Linked DNA regions of Homo sapiens: region 2 is linked to region 1. Evidence: promoter capture Hi-C in human tissues and cell types (Jung and others, 2019). All regions are on one chromosome and are shown on one strand. Each heading gives the region's core, a stretch centred on a gene start or on the middle of the fragment in contact. The rest is flanking DNA. Distances are from core to core; before and after follow the strand shown.

Region 1 (5,778 bases), core at 2,066-4,565:
TGTACTAAACTAATTTTTTGTAAGGTTGAAAATGTTCATAATACATTAAAAGATAAAGAACCAAAAAACAAAAAACAAAAACAAACAAAAAATAGACAAATTGGACTTCATCAAAATTTTTTTTAAATGATGGACTAAAGGAATTCGGCAGTACACATTTCCTATTACCCAACAATTTCACTTCTAGCAATGCATCCTAAAGGACTACTCTCATAAAAACTAAAGAGAATGTGCTAGAAATGTTCATTTCAGCACTGTTTGAAATTTTTAAAATTGTGGGAAAAAACCTAAAGTCAAAATTAGAAGAGTTAAATAGACAATATTCATACCACGCAGTACCTAAAAAGGATGAAGACAAGCTCTACGTAACACTAACAAATAATAGACATGTTTGGTTTCAAAAAAGGCAGGTCAATAACAATTCATCAGCATGACATTATTAATGGAGACAAACAAACATAAACAGAGAGAAAGAGGTAAAGCCACAGAAAGGGGGTATAGAAAGTTTACTCTCCCCAAGTACTCTCCAAAATAGTACCTTATGTCCTAGAAGGAAGAGGGATGGGGAAGGGGAACTCAAAGAATTTTGCTTTATGCTACTGTTTGAATTTTTTTATGAGCATATATTTTGTACCCTTTGTATAATTAAAAATAACATAAACCAAATTACTGATAATTATGAGTTAAAGTACATATTCTACATTTCAAAGATTTCATAAAGTAAAATCCTTATTTTATTTTTTGTTTGTTTGTTTTTTGTTTTTTTTGAGATGGAGTTTCACTCTTGTCAACCAGGCTGGAGTGCAATGGCGCAATCTTGGCTCACTGCAACCTCCGCTTCCCAGGTTCAAGCGATTCTCCTGCCTCAGTCTCCCGAATAGCTGGGATTACAGGCAAGCGCCATCACACCCGGCTAATTTTTGTATTTTTAGTATAGACAGGGTTTCACCGTGTTGGCCAGGCTGGTCTGGAACTCCTGACCTCAGGTGATCCGCCCGCCTCAGCCTCCCAAAGTGCTGGGATTACAGGCGTAAGCCATCGCGCCCGGCCTATGTATGTTTTAAAATTATTTTCTAGAATTACTTTCAAGAATTGCTGAGAAAACATATTGTCTTTGTAACATTCATTGCAGACTGCTACCAATACTGTTTTTAAAGAAAATCTGCTACTTAATATGCAGTTTTAAACAGAGATACAAAATAAAGCTTCTGCTTTATTTAAAATAAAACACAAGTGAATTCCTGTGGTAGTCTAAGCCCTGTAAACTTTATCTTATAATTCACTTTATCGTCCCACTAAATAGGATATAATAGGTTAAGCCAAGTTCCTCTTTTTCTGTAAGACACCTAAATGTTTTAAATACCTTAGCATTTCCTAGAATCAGACAAATTCTAAGATTATACAACAAAAGTCTTCTCCCAAAAAACTACTAAAAACGTCCTGAGATATATCCCTATTCTTGCCTTGCTTGCAAGGAGGGAATGACGTAAGAGTCACTATATACAAAACTACATACAGAGTCACAACCCAGGAAGTGTTTCTTCATTCTTCCACTGAACCTTTTTTTTTTGAGATGGAGTCTCGCTCTGTCACCCAGGCTGGAGTGCAGTGGCGAGATCTGGGCTCACTGCAAGCTCCGCCTCCCGGGTTCACGCCATTCTCCTGCCTCAGCCTCCCGAGTAGCTGGGACTACAGGTGCCTGCCACCATGGCCGGCTAATTTTTTGTATTATTATTATTATTGTTTTAGTAGAGACGGGGTTTCACCATGTTAGCCAGGATGGTCTCGATCTCCTGACCTCGTGATCCGCCCGCCTCGGCCTCCCAAAGTGCTGGGATTACAGGCGTGAGCCACCGCGCCCGACCCCTTTTGCCTGTTTTAGAGTGAAAACATTTTCTTTACAAGACTAAAATAGGTTAAAAAAAATTGTGTTGGTTGAAAACTTTACTAAGATCATACATTTGCCTCTATACCACATTTCCCAAGCCTTTCTTAAATATTTTTGCAAAGCCCTGAAGGTGGTAGTTTTTTGGGAACACAAGAAATAAAGGGATTGTGTGCTTCCTTATAACAGGCACCAATCTACTTATATTAGCGGAAAAAATTTAAAAGCTCATAATACCGCACATTTGTGAGTTATGAATGACCACAGTGCAAACAGTAAAAATAAAGGTTAATAGGCCGGGCGAGGTGGCTCACGCCTGTAATACCAGCACTTTGGGAGCCCAAGGCGGGCGGATCACGAGGTCAGGAGATCGAGACCATGCTGGCTAACACGGTGAAACCCTGTCTCTACTAAAAACACAAAAAAATTAGCCGGGCGTGGTGGCAGGCGCCTGGAGTCCCAGCTACTCAGGAGGCTGAGGCAGGAGAATGGCGTGAACCCAGGAGGCGGAGCTTGCAGTGAGCCGAGATCGCGCCACTGCACTCCAGCCTGGGCGACAGAGCGAGACTCTGTCTCAAAAAAAAAAAATAAAATAAAATAAATAAATAAATAAAACATGCAAAAGGAAAGATCAAATGCTGCTTGGGTGAATGGCTGACTTCCAGAATTACCCTTTCCAGGAGAATTCCTCATTGTCTGCGGCTGCATTGTCCAACAGGTGAGCCACTAGCCACTTTGTAGTTACTGAGCGCTTAAATGTAACTAGTTCGAAGATGTGCCGTAAATGCAGCACACCAGATTTGAAAAGCTTAGTACGAACAAAAGAATGTAAAATATCTCATTCATTTGATATTATTACATGTTAAAATACCTTGGATTTATTGGGTTAAACAAAATGTCTTATTTCCATTAACTTCACCTATTTCTTACTTTTAGTTTAAAACTACATAAAGATTAGCTTGCCTTGTATTTTCACTGGACAGCGCTGGTCTAAGTAATTAATAAGACCCAGCTGACATTAGCATCTATTTCTTTCTCCTCTAGCGTTTCTCGAACTGGTTCTACAGTAGCCTGGGGCACCGTTAATTCTGCCAAGGCCTGGCGTGGGATCTTTCTGAATCCTAAGATCCTGGGTGTTGGGTAAGAGGATGATGAGTAAAGAACTGGCTAACTGGTCCCGTACCCACTGCGCATCTCGCAGAGCGGGCTCCCGAATCTCCTCCGGCAGAGCGTCCCCGAGCTTTTGCACGAAGCGGCCGCACAGTTGTAGCATTTCGGTCACAGCCCGCTTCGAGGTGCAGCGCACCCGAAAGTCTTCTCGGGGAGTGGCGGAGACCAAGGCCTGGCTCTCTGTGCCAGCCGCGAGCTCCTTGTCCCATGGAGGGTCAAGGACCACCAACTCAGGAGACCCCGCCATTTTTCGTCGGAACTGTGGGCGGGGCACTCTGGGAGCGGAAAAGCGGGTTCACACTGGTGTAACCAGCATGCATCCGGCTGGAAACTCAGGACGCTGCAGCTGAAACGTTCCGGCTCCGGCTCTGCTGGCCGGTCTAAAGCGGCAGCCGCCGGGGCGCAATGCGAGCGGCTGGCGTAGGCTTGGTGGACTGTCACTGCCACCTCTCCGCCCCGGACTTTGACCGCGTATGTGAGGGCGATACGGGACCAGAGGGAGCAGGGAGGCCCCCGTCCTTTCCCCTCGTGTTATCTTTGCTCTCCTCCCTTGGGACGAAACCCCATATCCCCCGCCCAGACCCTTGTTTATGGCCATATGACCTTGCCCCTCATTTCCCTATTCCCTATTTAACCTCAGACATACCGATTTTTTTTTCCTGATTCAGTAGCGGTAAGCTATCTCCACAAGGCTTTTGTTTGCTCTTCTGAGTTCCTGGAATCGTTCCCTCACTCCCCTTGGCTGGCCTGTTTTTCCCCTCGGGGCTCTCACCTCCTGGCTGAGATGCCACTCTTTGTGGGAAGCGGTCCTCGAAACGCGTTCAAATCGGGGAGAGGTCGGGCGCGGGCTCACGCCCGTAATCCCAGCACTTTGGGAGGCCGAGGCGGGCGCTGCGCATCTCCTGTGTCCAGGAGATCGTGACCAGCCTGGGCAACATGGTGAAACCTCGTCCCTACAAAAAAAAAAAAAAAGCCGGTGATTGTGGCGTTTGCCTGTGGTCCCAGCTACTCGGGAGGCTGAGGTGGGAGAATCGCTGGAGCCCAGGAGGTGGAGGTTGCAGTGAGCTGACATCAAGCCACTGCACTCCAGCCTGGGTAACAGTGAGACCCTGTCTCAAAAAAAAAAAAAAAAAAAAATTCACAAATGGGGGAGAGAGGCAAACAAACAAACAAAAATACATGGCCGAGTGTGGTTGCTCACACTTGTAATCCTAGCACTATGAGAGGCCGAAGTGGGTGGATCGCTTGAGCCCAGGAGTTTGAGACCAGCCTGGGCAATGTGGTGAGACCCCGTCTCAATTAAAATAATAATACACACGTAAAATCAGTTACAAACTGTTTTACCCATTACGTGGGAAACTAGAGACTAATAATAGAGGATTAAGGGGGGTTTTATTTCAGGGGGAAATCCTCCCAGGAGCTGACACTTAAGGCTGAAAAGACAAGGAGCCACCCAAGCAAGGGGGTGAGTGTATGCTGGTTAGGGAAACAGATAGGTTGCAGGCCCCCAGACAAGCTAGAATTTGGCACATTTCAGTTGCCAAAAAGCTAAGTGGAGCCTGATGAGCTAGAAAGAGAAAGGCATGAAACAAAACTGGGGAGGTTTGCAGGGGATAGATGAGGTGGGTCAGTAAGGAATTTGGATTGCATTTGAAGCACAATGCAGATTCATTAAAGGGCTTTTTTAAAATTTATTTTCATTTTTTTATTTTTTTAGATTGAGTCTGGCTGTGTCCCTCAGGCTGAAATGCAATAGCATGATCTCAGGTCATTGCAACCTCCACCTCCTGGGCTCAAAAAATTCTCCTGTCTCAGCCTCCCAAGTAGCTGGGATCACAGGTGTGTCCCACCACGCCTGGCTAATTTTTTGTATTTTTAATAGAGACAGAGTTTTGCCATGTTGTCCAGGCTGGTCTTGAACTTCTGGCCTCAAGTGATCAACCCTCCTTGGCCTCCCAAAGTCCTGGGATTACACAAAAATGGATAGGCATGATGCTATCCATTTTAACACCATTTTGCTGCTGTATGGCAAATGGGTGGAGGAGAAGAGTGGAAGCTACAAGACTAGTTAGGAGGCTTTTGCAGTATATAGGCAAGAGATGTTGGCTGTTGGTACTATGATGATAGCAGGTGAGTTTGAGATGAATACATGGATTCAAGATACATTTTAGAGAGAGAATCCACAGTAAGTACTGAAGAATTGGATGTGGATAGCAAGGGAAAGGGAGGAGTCAAGGATGACTCAGATTATTAGCTTGTGCTATAGGGAAGATGGTGGTGCTGGTTTACTGAGATAAGGGAAGACCAAGGTCTGAGGTGGAGGTGGGGAGGTCAGCAGAAGGAATAGGTTTGTGGGGAGAAAATAAAGATTTATGTTTGGGGCATATTGGGAAACCTAATCCCATCCAAATGAAGATGTCATAATTTTTAAACATGAGTCATGGGCTCAGGAGAGAATTACAAGCTAAAGATAAAAATTGGGGGCCGGGCGCAGTGGCTCATGCCTGTAATCTCAGCACTTTGGGAGGCCGAGGTGGGCAGATCATAAGGTTAGGAGATCGAGACCATCCTGGCTAACATGGTGAAACCCTGTCGCTACTAAAAGTACAAAAAAATTAGCTGGGCATGGCAGCATGTGCCTGTAGTCCCAGCTACTTGGGAGGCTGAGGCAGGAGAATGGTGTGAACCCGGGAGGCGGAGCTTGCAGTGAGCCGAGATCGTGA
Region 2 (5,778 bases), core at 1,729-4,228, 140 kb before region 1:
TCACACACCTGTGGCTCCACCGAGACAAGAAAGAGCCTGTGGCCTGGCCAGAGAGGGAGAAGAGGATTTGAGATGGAAATCTGAGTATGAGGTGTATGAGAGCAGTGGGAGAGCTCCAGCTGAAGGGGACTGAGACACAGAGGGACCCAGAGGGCAGAAGGAGGTGGCGCCCCTCCGCCCCCTTCTCCCACTCCCCCGGACTGTGCCCAAGGTGTCCAGAGCTGCCTCAAGCCCGGTGGTCTAAGCAGGAGACTTGGTGACGCTCCTTCAGGGACTGGCTTCAGGAAGTTAACTGGGCCTGATAATCTGGCGGAAATTTCTGTTTGTTTAGAGAAGATGATTAAAATTGCCTAGTCACTGGATTTGAATACTCAAGAATGAGTTTAATTGAGAAGAGAATGTTTCTTTTTAGATGAGGCAATAACCACCATTGCTGGGTTTGTTTGCACCAAGGGGAAGAACTTAAATATCTGAAATGTAACATGTCCTAAGATGATGGCCGGGGTGGGAGCCAGGGCTGACATGAAGTGTAAGGATTGAACCTTACCCTGAAACCTCCATTAAAGAGGTCACTTAGCACGGATTAAAATCCAGGCATTCACGTCAACATACCCTATTGAATCTGCCCTCTCTGGAGCCAGGAGCAGCCAGTTCAGGACTTTCACTGGCCTGGCACCTGGCTCTGGTCTCACTTTACTTCCCATCGCAGTCTGTCGGTCCAGAGGCAGCACTGTGCGACTGCAAGTGTTTGGGCTGTGTGCGCATGTGCAGGTGCGGGTGTGCGCATGCACATCGCTGGCTGTGCGCGGTCTTGCAGCGTGCTTAGGCAAACCTCGCCCCCACCTGGGTCCGGGGCCTCAGCATGGTGAAACTGATGCTGTGCGAACACGTGTTTGATTCAGTTTAAATGGAGGTGGTGCGGACGAATCAAAGTTTTGCATCAATACGGTAGAACTTGCATAATCCAAGACCACCTGTTTCTTTTCTCTGCCTTCCCCATCCAAATCATCCCCAAATCATCCGTGAGAAGCCTCTGCTCCCATCAGTGTCATCCCTGGGGGACCCCATCAGAGAAGGGTGTGGGAGAAGCAGGTGCAGGTCACAGTCCTCCCTAGTCCATCTGCCTCAGAAACTATTCCTGGGGTCGGCGGCGTGAGGGACCCACCACCACGTGTCGTGGGCATTTGCCCCAGCACAGAGTTCACACCCCGTCCCCCAGGACCCCCTTGTGCGGGGGTCTGGGCAATGCATGGACTGGGCCACAGCCCGTGCCCCAAGCGAATGGACTGCATTCTGAGGCACCTGCTCTATTTCTGCCCAGGCCAGGAGCTGTGGATCCAAGCACTGGGCATGGCCACAGCGAACTTCCCTGAACAAGTAGTACTCTTCCAGCTGATGAGTGCACTGGCATTTATTATGGTCGGGCCAGTGCTGGAAGTGGAGATGTCTATAAGATGATTATGAGGACAGGATGGAACTCATACTCTAAGAAAACAAAGAAGTCCATGGAAACGTATATCATGGGTATCTTCAAAAACGACTTGCGTGGCGAGATCTTCAATGTGGCCATCCTTGGCTACCTCAGACCCGAAAGAACTTTGCTTCTTTAGAGTCACTTATTTCGGCAATTCAAGGTGATATTAAGGAAGCTAAGAAACGCCTACATTTACCAGAACATTTGAAACTTAAAGAAGACCATTTCTTCCAGGTTCCTAAAAGCAAAATAATGAACGGCCACTGATTAAAAAAAAAATCTTATTTATTCATTCACTGTATTCTAGTATTTCACTGCTTACAACTGTCCAGTCTCACCTTGGTTATAGTCTTAAAATCAAACATTTTCCCACAGCTGTGAACTAGTTTAAACAAAACAACACAGTTACTATATTGTGCTTCAATTGTTAAATTGTTAACAGGTTTTATTTATTTAAATACATAAAAAGCTTTATCTAAAAATAAAGATTTTCAAAATATGTTGATTAGAATGTACCACTAGAAGGGTATTAAGTGTCTTATAATGGAAATGAAATGTATATAAGTATGGGTTAAAAGGCAAGCCACTAATTTGAGATGAGAACTATAGTTCTCATGGCAAAAACCTTCATGTATGTACTTGCATAGCATATAGTCCTAAACAGAGAAGGCTTATAAAAGTAAATACATTAAATAGGAGTTGTATAGTTTATTATAAACCTAAGGGGAAAACTCCAGACTTTGTATTTGTGATATATGATGCATTAATATATTATTATAAGCATGAAGACATTTGTGAAACTTTTTTTGTCATTTTCTTTTTTCTTTCTATTTATTTATTTATTTTTATTTTTATTTATTTGTTTATTTTTTTGAGACAGGGTCTTGCCCTGTCACCCAGGTTGGAATACAATGGTGATCAAGGTCTATTGCAGCCTTGACCTCCTGGGCTCAAGCAATTCTCTCACCTCAGCCTCCTGAGTAGTTGGGACTACAGGGTGAGCCACCGTGCTCAGCTCAATTTTAAAATATTTTTGTAGAGACAAGGTCTCCCTACGTTGCCTAGGCTGGTCTCAAACTCTTGGCTGAAGCAATCCTCCTGCCTCAGCCTCTTAAAATGCCAGGATTACAGGCCTGAGCCACTGCACCTGGCCTTTAGTCATTATCTGGGCAGTCACATCATTGCACCATTTTCATTTTTGTATAGAGCTGCTTCGGTTCTAAGTGGTCTAGACTCCCTCTGCATATCTTTATTGTTGTTAAGACAGTAAGATAGATGTTTTTTGAATCTATAGGTTCTCCTTTTTGTTGGATAACACTTCTTTCTTCTTCAGAGTAGATATTCTTGTAGATATCTATAAGACTTTAACATTTTTCTTGACTTTGATTTTTTTCCTTTTTTAGGAAAAACAAAGACACAACAGACTTCATCTTTAGGTTTCCTCAAGATTTAAGTGAACACATAGCCATTAGTTTATATGTACCAGTTTCTTAAAAAAACACACACATAAAATGCTTGTTTTCCCTCTAGCCTAACTATTTAAAGCCAATTAAACTATAAAATACTTAGAAAATTATTTATTCTTAATGTAACTATATGTTCCAGGACAAATCTAAACTGACGTAGTTGTATACACACAATGTAATTTAATGCTAGTCTAAGAATGCTTGTAGCTTGAGAGAAAGGCACAGATTTTGTTAAACAATCTTCATACTGTAGATTTTTTCCTCCTACTGACTGTGATTTTTGGCCACTTGAGTCTTTTTGTTGATATTGGCAGAATGTTGAAATCTTTGGATATTTAGGAAATTAAGATTACAGATTGCGTTGGGCCCCTTCAAACAGTATATTGCATTATAGTTCACTTTAGCAATAGATTTGGTGGTTGGTTTGGTGGAGGGATAGAAGTATACAGAAGGTAATTTTAAAAATAATTCACTATGGATCATTTTTTCCTAATCTGCATAAATGAATTTGAACTGACTTTAATAAAAATATTTTGAAAGTACATAGAAAAACATCTGAAGCAGTTGTTGGAGAAGAGGGAAACATGTATAAATTTAGTTGGATTGTGTTTTACTCTTTGGTGTATGAATTTATGGCAAACAATGCAGCTTGTGGCTTTTCATTTCTTTATAGAGCTATGTAGAAAATACTATTTTTCATATTAGAAATCCTGTACTTGAAAGAAGCCTCAATTATAAGTGGCTTCATGAAGCAAAGTTAAAAACAAACATAGAAAATGTGAAAATATTTGTGTTTGTTTGTCTGACTAGCTTGCTGTTAATTATGTTCTCTTTAAGTGTGTGAATGTTCTTTTATACTTTATAGCCACCTTACATTTTGTTAAATAGCCATTGCTTTTAAGATGGATGGTATGGTGCGTAGAGGTTAGTTAACTGTATCTACATTTTTCAAAGTTTTATATTAACTATTATAAGAAGTTACAAGGCCGGGCGCGATGGCCCACGCCTGTAATCCCAGCATTTTGGGAGGCCGACGCAGGTGGATCACGAGGTCAGGACATCGAGACCATCCTGGCTAACACAGTGAAACCCCGTCTCTACTAAAAATACAAAAAATTAGCCAGGCGTGGTGGCGTGCGCCTATAATCCCAGCTACTCAGGAGGCTGAGGCAGGAGAATCACTTGAACCCAGGAGGCAGAGGTTGCAGTGAGCCGAGATCAAGCCACTGTACTCCAGCCTGGGCAACAGAGCGAGACTCTGTCTCAAAAAAAAAAAAAAGAAGGAAAAAAAAAAGTTACAGTAGTGCCATTTTGATTAGTCTGAATGTTTTCAGGCCTTGAAATAAATTTTGACTAAGTAATTTTTTTTTTCAGAGCAGGAGTGGAAGTTTATTTTAAAAGCTTTAGGCCAGTAAGGAAAAAAAGGAAAGGAAAGAAGGAAAATGCAACTTGGAAGAGGGCCAAGCAGGCGACTCGAGAAACCAAGTGCACAGCTTAACATCTTGACTTGGGGTTTTATTTGTTGGCATACTTCCAGGATCTTATTGGGAAGCTGCTGATCAGTTTCAGGTGTTTTCTATCTATTAGGAGCCTACCTTTCCCTGGCACCAGCTGTGACTAATTATTACTTTAAACAAACTGTTAACAACCGCCTGGCCATCACCTGATGGTTGCCCAACATTTCTGGTGTGTGTGTGGTAGGGAGCCCTCTCCTGCCCTGCTCATACCTGACTAGCTACCTACTGTAACATTTACCCCTGCCTTAAGAGTCCAAGACCCCAAATCTTTGGTGGAAAGTGGATGAAGGTCAGTCTTCTGTAACTGTTTCCTGCTGACAGAGGGGCGGTGGTGGTTCTGTGAGTCTTAGCCTCTCACTGTCTAGGCTGAGTTGGCTCCATGAGTTGCTGAAAGTGGTATCGAACCAGGTCCAAAGAAGACAGAAGCAGGATTTTGCCTCTGTCATATCCCACAATGGGCAGTCTAGAGGCCCCTGTAGAAGGTGATTATTGAATATTGAGAGGATGGTGTCCCTTATTGAGGATGATCTGGAGCTTAATGGCCTTACTTTGAGGTGAAAAGGCATTACTTATCTTTCTGCTTAAAAAGGAACCTCAGATCCTCCAGGGACTCGCAAGCGTGTTCGGGAGCTGAGGGCATTGTTTCCAGCTCTGGTGTCTCGGAGCCTTTCCACAGCTTCACTCAGGTGTGATGTATCCAGCTGGCAATCTCTGAGACTAAGTAATTTTTTTAAATGTTCCTTCTAAGTCTTTTTTTTTCTTTAACAACTCTATTCTTACAATTTCTTAAAATTGTGAACAACTAACCACACTACAAAGTTGGTGGACATAGATACTCACATTATAATCAAAGTAAACTTACCCAGCTGTTAATAAAACTTGCAAAATCATATGAAGCATATAGTCGTGACTTGCTTCCTGGTAATTAATCATGGTGGCCATAAGTAAGTCCAGCCATTGCCTTCCCATTTCCCAGGCTACAGGCTCAATAAGGGCTTTTCAAATTCCTGGATATTAGCTGGGCCATCTGGCTTTGTTTTGGCCGAGTAGCATCCAACTCCTCTTTCCTATTGGAGGGAAATCTCCTATTATATAGTCTTGGTGGGTGGCCATTTTGGAGACTAAAAAGGCCAAGTCTTCCTTCTCTCTGCACTCAGCTATCCAGGTCATAGGCCTGAACCCCAGCCTGAGCCAATACTATATTGCTGCCAAGACTTCAATCTTGAACAAGTGACACATAGCCCAGAAGCAGTAGAATTCTTCTGCCGTGATGAGGAATCCACACCAGGCCACTCCGGCTAAAAGGCATGTATTGTGCTTC

What was found. Contacts are between HindIII fragments. The study calls those that stand out against the background at their distance.
Region 2: a contact is called between a fragment that was not itself captured here and the fragment with the promoter of NSL1 in region 1, in 1 of the 25 tissues and cell types used here (aorta).

What each region holds. Positions count from the first base shown.
Region 1 is chr1:212,788,462-212,794,239 of GRCh38, forward strand. It overlaps NSL1 (NSL1 component of MIS12 kinetochore complex), which reads right to left and starts at 3,316. Exons shown (of 6, transcript NM_015471.4): 1 at 3,069-3,316. The coding sequence starts at 3,302. TATDN3 (TatD DNase domain containing 3) reads left to right here and starts at 3,433. Exons shown (of 10, transcript NM_001042552.3): 1 at 3,433-3,526. The coding sequence starts at 3,461. RefSeq lists enhancers at 1,989-2,767, 3,242-3,521, 5,656-5,778. The HindIII fragment of the contact is 11,895 bases long and covers 1,950-5,778 here.
Region 2 is chr1:212,646,018-212,651,795 of GRCh38, forward strand. All of the region lies in intron 2 of LINC02773 (long intergenic non-protein coding RNA 2773), which reads right to left. It also overlaps the pseudogene RFKP5. Among named protein-coding and RNA genes, the nearest start is that of LINC02773, 17 kb to the right of the region's middle. RefSeq lists an enhancer at 246-755. The HindIII fragment of the contact is 4,490 bases long and covers 734-5,223 here.